Regions from separate parts of the Homo sapiens genome. Here all the other regions are linked to region 3. Evidence: promoter capture Hi-C in 16 types of primary human blood cells and fetal thymus (Javierre and others, 2016). All regions are on one chromosome and are shown on one strand. Each heading gives the region's core, a stretch centred on a gene start or on the middle of the fragment in contact. The rest is flanking DNA. Distances are from core to core; before and after follow the strand shown.

What was found. Contacts are between HindIII fragments. The CHiCAGO score rates a contact against its expected background, and 5 or more counts as called.
Region 1: a contact is called between a fragment that was not itself captured here and the fragment with the promoter of GRHPR in region 3, in 1 of 17 cell types (total B cells). The highest score is 5.9, in total B cells.
Region 2: a contact is called between a fragment that was not itself captured here and the fragment with the promoter of GRHPR in region 3, in 2 of 17 cell types (naive B cells and endothelial precursors). The highest score is 6.8, in naive B cells.

The regions. Positions count from the first base shown.
Region 1 is chr9:36,887,904-36,891,399 of GRCh38, forward strand. The region is part of intron 7 of PAX5 (paired box 5); the gene reads right to left. Among named protein-coding and RNA genes, the nearest start is that of MIR4476, 3.9 kb to the right of the region's middle. The HindIII fragment of the contact is 4,685 bases long and covers 1-3,496 here.
Region 2 is chr9:36,866,019-36,869,675 of GRCh38, forward strand. All of the region lies in intron 8 of PAX5 (paired box 5), which reads right to left. Among named protein-coding and RNA genes, the nearest start is that of MIR4540, 3.5 kb to the left of the region's middle. RefSeq lists an enhancer at 1,922-2,613. The HindIII fragment of the contact is 2,531 bases long and covers 909-3,439 here.
Region 3 is chr9:37,420,320-37,424,170 of GRCh38, forward strand. GRHPR (glyoxylate and hydroxypyruvate reductase) reads left to right here and starts at 2,377. Exons shown (of 9, transcript NM_012203.2): 1 at 2,377-2,514. The coding sequence starts at 2,432. RefSeq lists enhancers at 1,723-2,348, 2,349-2,974 and a silencer at 2,189-2,338. The HindIII fragment of the contact is 7,938 bases long and covers 1-3,851 here.

The DNA of each region.
Region 1 (3,496 bases), core at 985-3,484, 530 kb before region 3:
TATAAAGAACTCTTGCAGCTCAATAATAGACAAATAATCCAATTTTAAAATGAGCAAAGCAACTGAATAGGCATTTGTCTAAAGAAGAATAAATGAAATGGCTAACAAGCACATGAAAAGATGTTCAACATCATTAGCTCTCAGGGAAATGCAAATCCAAACCACAATAAAACACCACTTCATACCCACTGGGAAGGTCACAGTCAAAAAGACATATTGTCACAATCATTGGCAAAGATGGGGAAAATCGGAACCCTCAAACACTGCTGGTAGGAATGTAAAATGGTACAGCTGCTTTGGAAAAGTCTGGCAGTTCTTAGACATCGAGTTACCACGTGACCCAGCAATTCCCACTCCTAGGTGTACACCCCAGAGAAATAAGAACGTATGTCCACATAAAAACTTGTACACAAATGTTGGTGGCAGCATTATTCATGATAGCCAAAAAGTGGAAACAGCTCAGATATCCATCAATTGATGAATGCATAACGAAAATGTAGTATGTCCATACAATGGAATATTTGGCAATAAAACAGAGTGAAATACCAATACATACTACAGTAGCAACATTCATAATGAACTTGAAATGACTATGCTACGTGAAAGAAGCCAGTCACAAAAGACTATGTATTGTGTGAATATATTCATACAAATGTCCAAGATAGGCAAATCTACCGACAAAAGGTAGATTCGTGATTGCCTAGGGCTGGGGCTGGGAAATGCTCAACAGGCAAAGACATGAAGGGAAGATATAAAGTCTCAGGCTGCATCTGGGGAGAGGGCAGGCTGGGCAGAGGCACGCTATGGCTGACGCTGGTGGAAGACCTGGCATCCAGAGGGCAGACCTGACCCCAGGGAGGAGACCTCCAGGCAGCTCTGCAGGCGGCAGGCTTGAGGGGGCATGAAGCCACCCACATCTGCTCTCCCTTTCACACAGGCTCCCCCGTTGCCTCCAGAGCCAAATCTAGGCCCCTGAGCCTTGCAGGGAGGGGTGGAGTTTGGAGTCACACAGGCCTGGCTTCAAATCTTAGCTCCACCACTTACTCGCTGTGTGACCTCTGGCAGGTAATACAACGATCTGAGCATGGGGCTTTCTTTGATAATTGGAAAAAGAGGGTATTTATTGGGAGTGTAACAATGGTACTCTCTGTAACAGGATTAAAACATGTCTGCAAATTCTTTGTTACTCTTCTCATGGAGAAGTGAGGTCTATGATCCTTTACCCTGAACCTGGGCCCCCTTGGTGACTGGTCAACCCACAGAGCTCCAGCCTCCTTGGAGTTCCCACAAGCCAGGCCCTGGCCAGGCACTTCCATGTCTTAACCTCATTCAATACAAGAACCCCATAAGGTTGCGGTTATAATCCCCATTTTACAAATGAGGAAATGAAGGCTCCCAAGCAGTTGATGTACCCAAGGTTGCACGGCTGATAATAATAACAATAACAGCTAATATTTTTGTAGAATTTACTGTATGCCAGACAAGGCTCTACACTAAGCAGTGTTCTAAACAATATTCACTCTGCTTTGTAAATATAGATTCATTTCATCCTCAAAAACTCTGTAAGGTGAACCCTATTGTTATCCCCATTTTACAGATGTGGAAACTAAAACACAGCGAGATTAGGCACCTGCCCAAGTTCCCACAGCTAGTCACAAATGGACCCTTATCCAAACGGAGGCGTTCTGGCACCAGATGCCTTCACAATCCCCCAGCATTGGGCACCCATCCTTCTCCTGCTTCTAGACTGGAAGTCCCCAGAGATCAAGAACTGCTCTCATTCCTGTTTCCCTTGCACTGGCCTGGCACACAGTAGGTACTCAGAAAACGTTTGCCAAGATGAAATTAATCATATGACATTGGGTCTGCTCTTCTGAAGGAACTATGCTTCTCTTCGCATCAGCGTCTCAGAAAGCCCTTCATCACGAACTCCACAAAATAACCAGGCCTGATTGATCAGTTTTTGCTTAGACGCAACTTTTTCTTTTTCTTTTTCATAGAGCCCATTTCTAGGTAGGCTCTCTCTATGTACACTAACGGGGGGGGGGGGAATGTGAATCCAATTAACTTCAAATTTAGCTCATAATGAACTTATCTCATTTTGCTACCAGCTCGGTTCTCATCGTGTGGCAGTAATTAACCACTGGGGGTTGTCACTCCCAGACACATGACACAGAAATCCTCCCAGTCCTTCGCTTCAAACCCTTGCAGAATTCATTACCCTGACAGTGTGAAAACCCTTCACTTTGAATACCATAGGGCACCAACCAAACTCCCCCTCCATCTACCTGACTGTGTGTGTGAGTGAGAGAAAGAAGGAAGCAAGCCATCGAGCAGCCATTAATTATTGTGAACAAGATGAGAGGTGGGGGCGGGATCCTGGTGATGGCTTGATGGCCCGAGAGGGTCTGCCAGCCTTGACAGCCCTGGGGCAAGAGGTCCTGCCCAGAGGAGGGAGATCTTAGCATACAAGGCCCAAACTATAAGGGAATATGGGGGAACTGGCTGGGAAAGGCAGAGCTCTTTGCGAACTGGCAACTCTGTCTGCTGGGGACTCCTAAGGTCCAGGAAGCCTGCACACTCCAGGCAACACGGATTGCTGTGTGACCTCAGGTAAACTTCACCCCCTCTCTGGGCCTTGGTTTCTGGGCCTTGGTTATCTGAATACTCAAGCAGTGGGAACAGATGGCCTCTGAGGGTTTTTTCCACAGTAACATTCCATAAGTCGGTGGCATCATTTCACCCCCATGTTGATGGAAAAGAAGGTGGGTATCAATTCCTACAGAGACAGATATGGCAGTGCCTGCTCGCTGTGGCCTCCACACTCTTGCCCACAGCATCAGACTTCCTGGAGCCCCTGAATTAAACCCGAGTGAAAGGAGGATAAGCATAAGGCACTTACAGAAGGAGATGGGAGTGGTCAGTCTGCAAATGAAATAAAATCTTCATTTTAGGCTGGGCGCAGTGGCTCACACTTGTAATCCCAGAACTTTGGGAGGCCAAGGCAGGAGGATCACCTGAGGTCAGGAGTTTGAGACCAGCCTGTACAACATGGCGAAACCCCATCTCTACTAAGAATACAAAAATTAGCTGGGCATGGTGGTGCACGCCTGTAGTCCCAGCTACTCAGGAGGCTGAGGCAGGAGAATTGCTTGAACTTGGGAGGTGGAGGTTGCAGTGAGCCGAGATTGCGCCACTGCACTCCGGCCTGGGCGACAGAGCGCAACTTCATCTCCAAAAAAACAAAAAAAAACTTCATTTTACATATTGTTCACTTTATATTTGTACAAGAGTTATGCTTTTAACTTTTTCTGAAGTATATTTTGACACCTGTTGTAGGAAAAGGTGAACAATGCCAAAGACAATGACATGAGCTGAAGATTTTCAACAAACCCCGAAGCAGATGACAGTGAACAAGTGCCACCTTAGGGAGAGGGGGAGAAACAGCTCAATACCCAGGACGTGGGGCGGGGATTCATCCTGCTACGCACACGTC
Region 2 (3,657 bases), core at 924-3,423, 550 kb before region 3:
TGACAGGGATTTCAGGTTGGGGCTGATGTTATTGAAAGGTCAGGAAGGTGCCTCAAATCCATTTTGGAAGTCAGTGGGGAATAAATCATCAATTATGGAGGAAACCAGCGGCTAGGAAGGTCTGCTCCTGGTGGCTGAAGAAGCGCGGGCGGGCCGGGCCTCACCAGGGAGCGTTCGAGGCAGAGGCCTAAATAGAAGCCAAGACTTCAGAACCTCAGTTGGGGTCGTGGTCAGATTTTTCTATCTGTCTGACTTTCTAACTGGGTCACAGCTTCCAGAGGGAAACTGAACCCAGGAACAGAAAACAATCATTTCTTTGTGTCTGGCTACCTGACTCTGGGTAGGGGAGCTGTGCCCCGGCGTACCTGCAGGTCTCAGACCAACCTCGGCCAGACCTGGGGAGCCCACCGTTGCCTGGATCCACTGAGGCACAGAAGCCTGAGACTTAAGAGAAGATGTTTTTGTAGCTGGCCAGGTCCCAGGGCCTGGGAGAGGATCTGCATTCAGGAAGAGCACAACAAAAGTTGGGGTGAAGGTGGGGGTCTCGATTTGTGTTGCTGTAGAAGCCAGGGCATCCAGGAACCGTCCTTTTTATACCAGTTCTGCACAAGGACAGGAGACAAAATAGCTTCTTTTTTATTGCTTCGGTGAGGAACTGAGGGGGGTGGGGACAATAGGGCAGAAAGAGGGCCACCTGGCTCCCCCTCTGACTTGCCATATGACTTTGAACAAGTCCTTTCCTCATCCTCATCTGCACAGCCCTGGGTTGATTTCTAAGGTTGAGTCCAGCCCTGTCCATCAGTGATGGACGGAAAAGCAGCTACAGAACACACAACGGCCTCTCCGTTGAACACACAACACGCTCCACACAGGCACAGCCCAATCTACACAGGGCTAACAGCCTTCAAAGCTTCTCCTGCAGAGCAGATTTCTCCAAAGCCAAAGGCAAGGCCCTCGGCTAGGGCCTCTGTTGAATCAATGTCTTTGCCGCTGCCCCCAGTGGCCAGCTCTACAGCCTACAAAATGTCCTGGATGGGGTGGTGGGGGGGGGGCCTTGGTTGGTCTCCTGCTTCCCAAGGCTAGATTCCAATTTCTTTGCATTTGTTTTTCCAAATGTGTCTGGCTCGTTCCTGGGGAGTTCTTCTCTACCCAGGAACCCCACACCCGCAGTGCCCATGGAAAAGCTATTCATTCACAAAGGTCCAGTGCAAAGTTGTAGGGGCTATGGGAAACTGCTTCAACCCAAGACTCTTCGGTATACACCTGGTGTCCCCGCTTAGACCTGCTCGTGCCACACCCTTCTTTTGCATCACACAATGAAAGCAATTTCTGGGCTGTAACACAGTGTTTCTAAGAGTCACACTCCAAATTGGCAAAATCCTTCCCTTGTCATCTAGACTGAACCACTTGCTAGCAAACCATTTAAGCCTCAGTTTTCACCTCTGTAAAAGGGGCTACCGTGAGGCTCCACTGCAATTATACATGAAAGGGGCACATGAATAGCAAAGCTCCGTCCAGGTGGGGGTTCGTCTTCTTAGCAGCATTGTGAACAAGACCCCACGATGGCCACAGCGGTCAGAAACCCTGCCCTGGCAGGACAATGCCCAAGGCATTTTTGGCCTGGGATTGCTCTTCAGGCGAAGGGTATGGTAACACAGTTGTCATTTCACATTTTTCCTTCCTCCCTCTTTTATCTCTCTTTCTCTTTTCCACTCCTTCTCTCTTCCTTTCTTTCTTTCTTTCAGCCCTGGATTTAAGTCTCCCTGTTTCGGGCCCTTTATTTGTGCCCGTTGCACATAGACTCCTTATAAAGAAAATTCATTTGTTCAGGGTCACCGCATGGTTTTTCATTAAAAACAAATTACCCGCATTCAGGGAGGACATCTGGGCTTCGCGGGTCCCATTAATGACTATATTTCCAGCCTCCCAGCCTGGTTGGGCTCCCCTTGCCTGTCACCCCGCGTTCCCGGCCCCGGGAGGACAATGAGAGTGACAGTCAAGTGAAAGGGAAAACATGAGGGATGAGGGCGAGAGGCAAGTCCCCCGAGAGGGGAAGGAGGGAAAAGTGAAAAAAATAAATAACTCAAACAGAGGGTAACAAGGGCCATTGTCTCAGCGTCTTCCTGCTAGAAGCCAGAGCAAATATTGGAAGAAGGACTGGGGGCGTGCCAGTAGCACTCAAGCCCTGTTTAATTACACAGTCCGACCCTAACTTGCCCTGGACTCTGGACCGGGCAAGATGGGGAGGGGCATGTGCTGTATTCAGATAAATCCCACCCACAGCTACTGAGCACCTACTGCAGGCAGCACCTACTGCAGGCAGGGCCAGGATCTGAGAGGAATTCCGGGCAGCCCTGACCTCAGACGCAGCCAGGAGACGGGCGCACGGGGTCTCTATGGCAGACCATGGGCAGTGCCCGGGGGGTGCACACAGTGGGGAGATGAGGGACTGCGGTGGGGGGCTTCCTGTAAGAGAGAGCCTTAAATTTGGGTCTAGGAACATGTGTCAAACACAGACAGGTGAGGATGGGGAGGGAGAAAGGAATATACCAGAATTCCAAGTGTGAGCTCCGTAGCATCCCAGCAGGAAGAGCTCTTCCTGGGCCATAAAAGAACTCGAGTTAGGAAGGCCACCTATGTCCCTGAGGGAGCACCTTCCCTGGCCCCAGAGCCCATAGATAGTCTCAATTTCCTCTCAGTCTCCATGGACACCGGAGGCTCAGAGACCCTAAGTTCCAGGCGCCAAGCCCAGCTGCTCCCTGACTGGCTATCCCCCTGGCAATGCAACACCACCTCCCGAACCCAGTCAGCCTGCCTCCGAGATGGATATGCTCACTCCAACCTCACAACATGCTTTCAAATGGCAACTGGGGCTAACAGCTGTGTGTCCCTTGATAACTCTAAAGCACCATGCAGGTTGGGGGTGGGGAAGCATGGGGCTTGTTGGTAGAATGAGCTTACGGGCATGGGTGGTTTGGCCCCATTTGAGAACACTCTCCTTTTGGAAGGCAGAAGCCAAGCTCCACTGGCTCTCACTGCCCTGAGGGCTTCGGACACTGCCAGAAGTTCTCTGGATAGCAGTATCCCAGGTGGAGTGACCCTCAGGGTTGGAGGCAGCGGTTGGTCCAGATGAAGACTGACAGCTGTCAGGGTCTTGGAGACAGGGGCTGCAGATCCCAGCAAGCCGAAGGGAGTCAAACTCTGACAGCCCCAGTAGATTAAAGCTGGGTTTCGGAAAGACTGCAGTAAGTACAGGAGCAAAGCACATCTCAGAACCTTTGTCTTCATTGTTCCTGCTCTGCCTGAAACACTCATCTTCTCCCTCCTCACTCCACCTCCCACTGGCTAACATATGTTTCTCTCTCAACAATAAACCTGAAAATTGTCTCTTCCTAGATTCCTCCCCTGCCCTAAGGGCAGCACCAGGGATGTCTTGGAAAGCTTTAGCTGTGCCCCTATTCTTTGATGTGTTTTCTCAATCTTAGCAAAACTCTCTGCAAAAGCACCCTCAGACATGCCTCCCACCCAGCCCTACTGTACAGAGATTCCAAGCCCCTCTGTGTCTGACATCCCCAGTCTAGGCTCCATCCCCCTTCTCTGTGTTCCCAGAGTCCCTGGGCTTGCCTGTTACCACAACTGGCCCCCATAGCCCCTCAC
Region 3 (3,851 bases), core at 1,127-3,626:
GGTAATTAAAAAAAAATTTTTTTTTGTAGAGACAGGGTCTCGCTATGTTGCCCAGGCTTGTCTCAAACTCCTGGGCTCAAGCAATGCTCCTGACTCAGCCTCCCAAAGTGCTGGAATTACAAACCATGAGCCACTGCACCTGGCCTGTTCCCAAAGAAACAAGAAAGATGTTTCTTGTACATCTTTCCAGGGATATTTAACACACAGAAATAGGTGGCCAGGTGTCGTGGCTCACGCCTGTAATCCCAGAACTTTGGAAGTGGATCGCTTTGAGCCCAGGTGTTCGAGACAAGCCCGGTCAACATAATGAAACCCTGTCTCTACAAAAAATACAAAACATTAGCTGGGTGTGGTGGCACATGCCTGTGGTCCCAGCTGCTCAGGAGGCTGAGGCGGGAGGATCATTGGAGCACAGGAGGTAGAGGTTGCAGTGAGCCAAGATTGCACCATTGCCCTCCAGCCTAGATAACAGACTGAGATCCTGTCTCAAAAAAAAAAAAAAAAAAAAAAAAAAAAGAATAGGCATATACTTTCTCCTATAAATGGTAACATATGCACTTTGCATCACCCTGTTTTCTCACTGGACAGTACATCTTGGAGATCATTCCACACTGGTACGCACAGAGCTGCCTCACTCTTTTGATTGATGCAGAGTATTTCACTGTGGGAATGAAGCATACGTAATGAACAGTCCCCTATGAGTGGACCTTTAGGTTGTTTCCCATATTTTACTATTCCAACAATGCCACAATGAAGAGCCTTTGGCAGATGGCATTTTGCACATGTGTGAACGCGTCTGTAAGGTAAATTCCTAAAAGCAAAATTTCTGGGTCAAAAAAGATGTGCAGTCTAAACTTTGATAGCTACTGCCAAACTTTCTTATTGAAGTTGCTGATTTACACTCCTACCAGCAACGTATGAAAGCACCTGGTTCCCCAATGTATTATTTTTTACATTGGTATCTTGCTGTAATTTTAATATGCAGTTCTTTTGTGAGTCAAGTTGAGCACTTTTCATCTTTTGTTTTTTTTTTTTGTTTGTTTTGTTTTTTTTTGTTTTAGATGGAGTCTCACTCTGTCACCCAGGCTGGAGTGTAGTGATGGGATCTCGGCTCACTGCAACCTCCATCTCCTGGACTCATGAGCAATTCTCCTGCCTCAGCCTCCTGAGTAGCTGGAATTACAGGCATGTGCCACCATGCCCACCTAATGTTTGTATATTCAGTACAGACAGAGTTTCACCATGTTGGCCAGGCTGGTCTCAAACTTCTGACCTCAAGTGATCCGCCTGCCTCGGCCTCCGAAAGTGCTGGGATTACAGGCATGAGCCACCGCGCCCAGCCATACATTTAAAGGCCATTTTCTTTTCTATAAACTGTCCATTGATATCCTTTGCTTATTCAGATAAGCTGGGCATCTTTGTCTTAGGAACTATTTGTGCAATAAGTAAATCAACCCCTTGTCTATAAAATGAGTTGCAAATATATGGTATTTTTCCCGGTTTGTTGTCTTATGATTTTGTTAATTTTTTTTTTTTAAGATAAACATAAGCCTGGTATTTCCAGGCACCTGGTATTTCCAGGCAGTCTCCCATACAAGCCCTAACCAGGCTTAGTTTCCAAGATCAGATGCATTCAGGATGGTACGGTTAATTTTTCAATGGAGAATTAGTTGTACTCTTATGGCTTCTGGCTTTCGCACACATAGCGTATCACTTATTTATTGCTGCATAAAGAATTACTCCAAAATTGAACGGCTTAGAGCAACAGCAGTCAGTGCATTATCATCTCTTATGGTTCCGGGGTTGACTGGGCTCAGCCAGTGATTCTCCTAAAGGCTCTTTCTTGCAGTTTTAGCTGTAGTCAGGTGGGAGTTGGCCTGGAGTCACCCGAAGGCTTCCTCACTCATACCTCTGGTCATTGACGGTGGCTGTGAGCCGGGCCCCTGGCTGTGCTGTTGGCCTGAACACCTACACGTGACCTCTCTGTGTGTCCTGGACTTCCTCACAGCCTGGAACCTGGGTTTCTACCCTGGGCCAACCCAAGAGACAGAAAAAGTGGGGGCTTTCAGTCTCTTAAGGCCTGAGCCTGTGGAAACAGGACCCTGAGCGTGTAGAAAAAGCAGGGCTCCCATGAGGCCTTGGACGGGATACTGCCCCCTCTCCCCCGGGGCCCTGATTCCCCAGTGGCACGAGGCGCACCCCCCCACACACACACAAGGACACTGTGTAGGGTCACTGTTACTGTCACTCCCCGAGCACGCACAGTCACCGCTCAGCCGCAACCCGGCGCTCCCTCTCGCGAAGCCACACCCCCTGCGCACGCCGCGCGCGACGTCTCTCCCGCCCACTCCAGCCTGGCCCCGCCCCGGCCCAGCTACATTCCCGGGCCAGCTTCTGTACTGCCAGGTCCGGGTCGGCGGCTGCACTGCGGATGAGACCGGTGCGACTCATGAAGGTGTTCGTCACCCGCAGGATACCCGCCGAGGGTAGGGTCGCGCTCGCCCGGGCGGCAGAGTAAGAGCCTCGCGCGCCGTGGAGGAGGGAGCAGGGCGGTCCCAGGGACCGGAGAGCCGGGCGGGGCGTTTGGGCCTTGTGGCCGGCTGGGGCAGGCTTGGAGTTTTGGGGAGTCTCGGAGAAAGTTCTCTGGGGCCCAGTTCTCCTCTTAAGACGACGCTGGGACCTGCAGTTCCGGCTTTGGAGAGGGGAGATTGCCCCTGAGGCAAGGTCCAGGCTAATTCTCCACGCTCCCACAGGACATGTGGGGTCAGGGACATGGCGGTCACTGACCAGGCCCTTGGACGTTTGGCAGGGGGCTTTGATGACTCTTCTTCTTTATATTTACTTATCTTTTTTTTTTTTTTTTTGAGACAGTCTCACTCTGCTGCACAGGCTGGAGTGCAGTGGCTCGATCGATCGTGGCTTACTGCAGCCTCGACTTCTTGGGCCCAATCAGTTCTCCCACCTGAGCCTCCCGAGTAGCTGGGACTACAGGCGCAAACAATCACTACCGGCTAATTTTCTGATTTTTTTTTTGTAGAGATGGGGGTCTCACTCTGTTGCTCAGGCTGGTCTCAAATTCCTGGGCTCAAGCAATCCTCTTGCCTCAGCCTCCCAAAGTGTTGGGATTACAGGTGTTAGTCACCATGACTGGCCTGAGGACCCTTTAATTTTTAAGACAGGGTCTCACTCTCATCCAGGCTGGAGTGCAGTGGCACCATTATACCTCACTGCAGCCTCAACCTCCTGGACTCAAGAGATACTTCCACCTCAGCCTCCCAAGTAGCTGGGACTACTACAGGCATGCACTACCATGCCTGGCTAATTTTTTATTTTTTTCAAAGACGAGGGTCTCACTGTGTTGCCCAGGCTGGTCCTGAACTCCTGTACGAAGGGATCCTCCCACCTCAGCCTCCCAAAGTGCTGGGATTACAGGCATGAACCACTGCACCTGGCCCACCCTTGCTAAATGGAACCCTTTTTGTGGGCCAACCTTGCCAGGTGCTTCATATACATAAACTTTTAATCCTGGTAGCACTGTGAAGTCAGTATTATAATTCCCATTGCACAGATTAAAAACTGGAGGCTGGACTTAGGGTTAAGTTTCTTCCCAAAGCCATGCAGCTCCCAGGTGGAGGAGCTGGGGCTTGTACTCAGAAGTGTCTGACTGCTGTCTGATCACTGCATTTGATCAGGTTTGTGTTTCCAATGTTAGATAGGAAGAGGATGCAATCCAGCCTCAGCAGCCAGTTCTAGGGGCATATGAGATTTTCAAATTTTGTTCACTGCAACAAAACCTTTGCCAAGGACCCACTTTGTACTGAGCAGGAGAAGGTGGAAGGCAGCAACCGCGC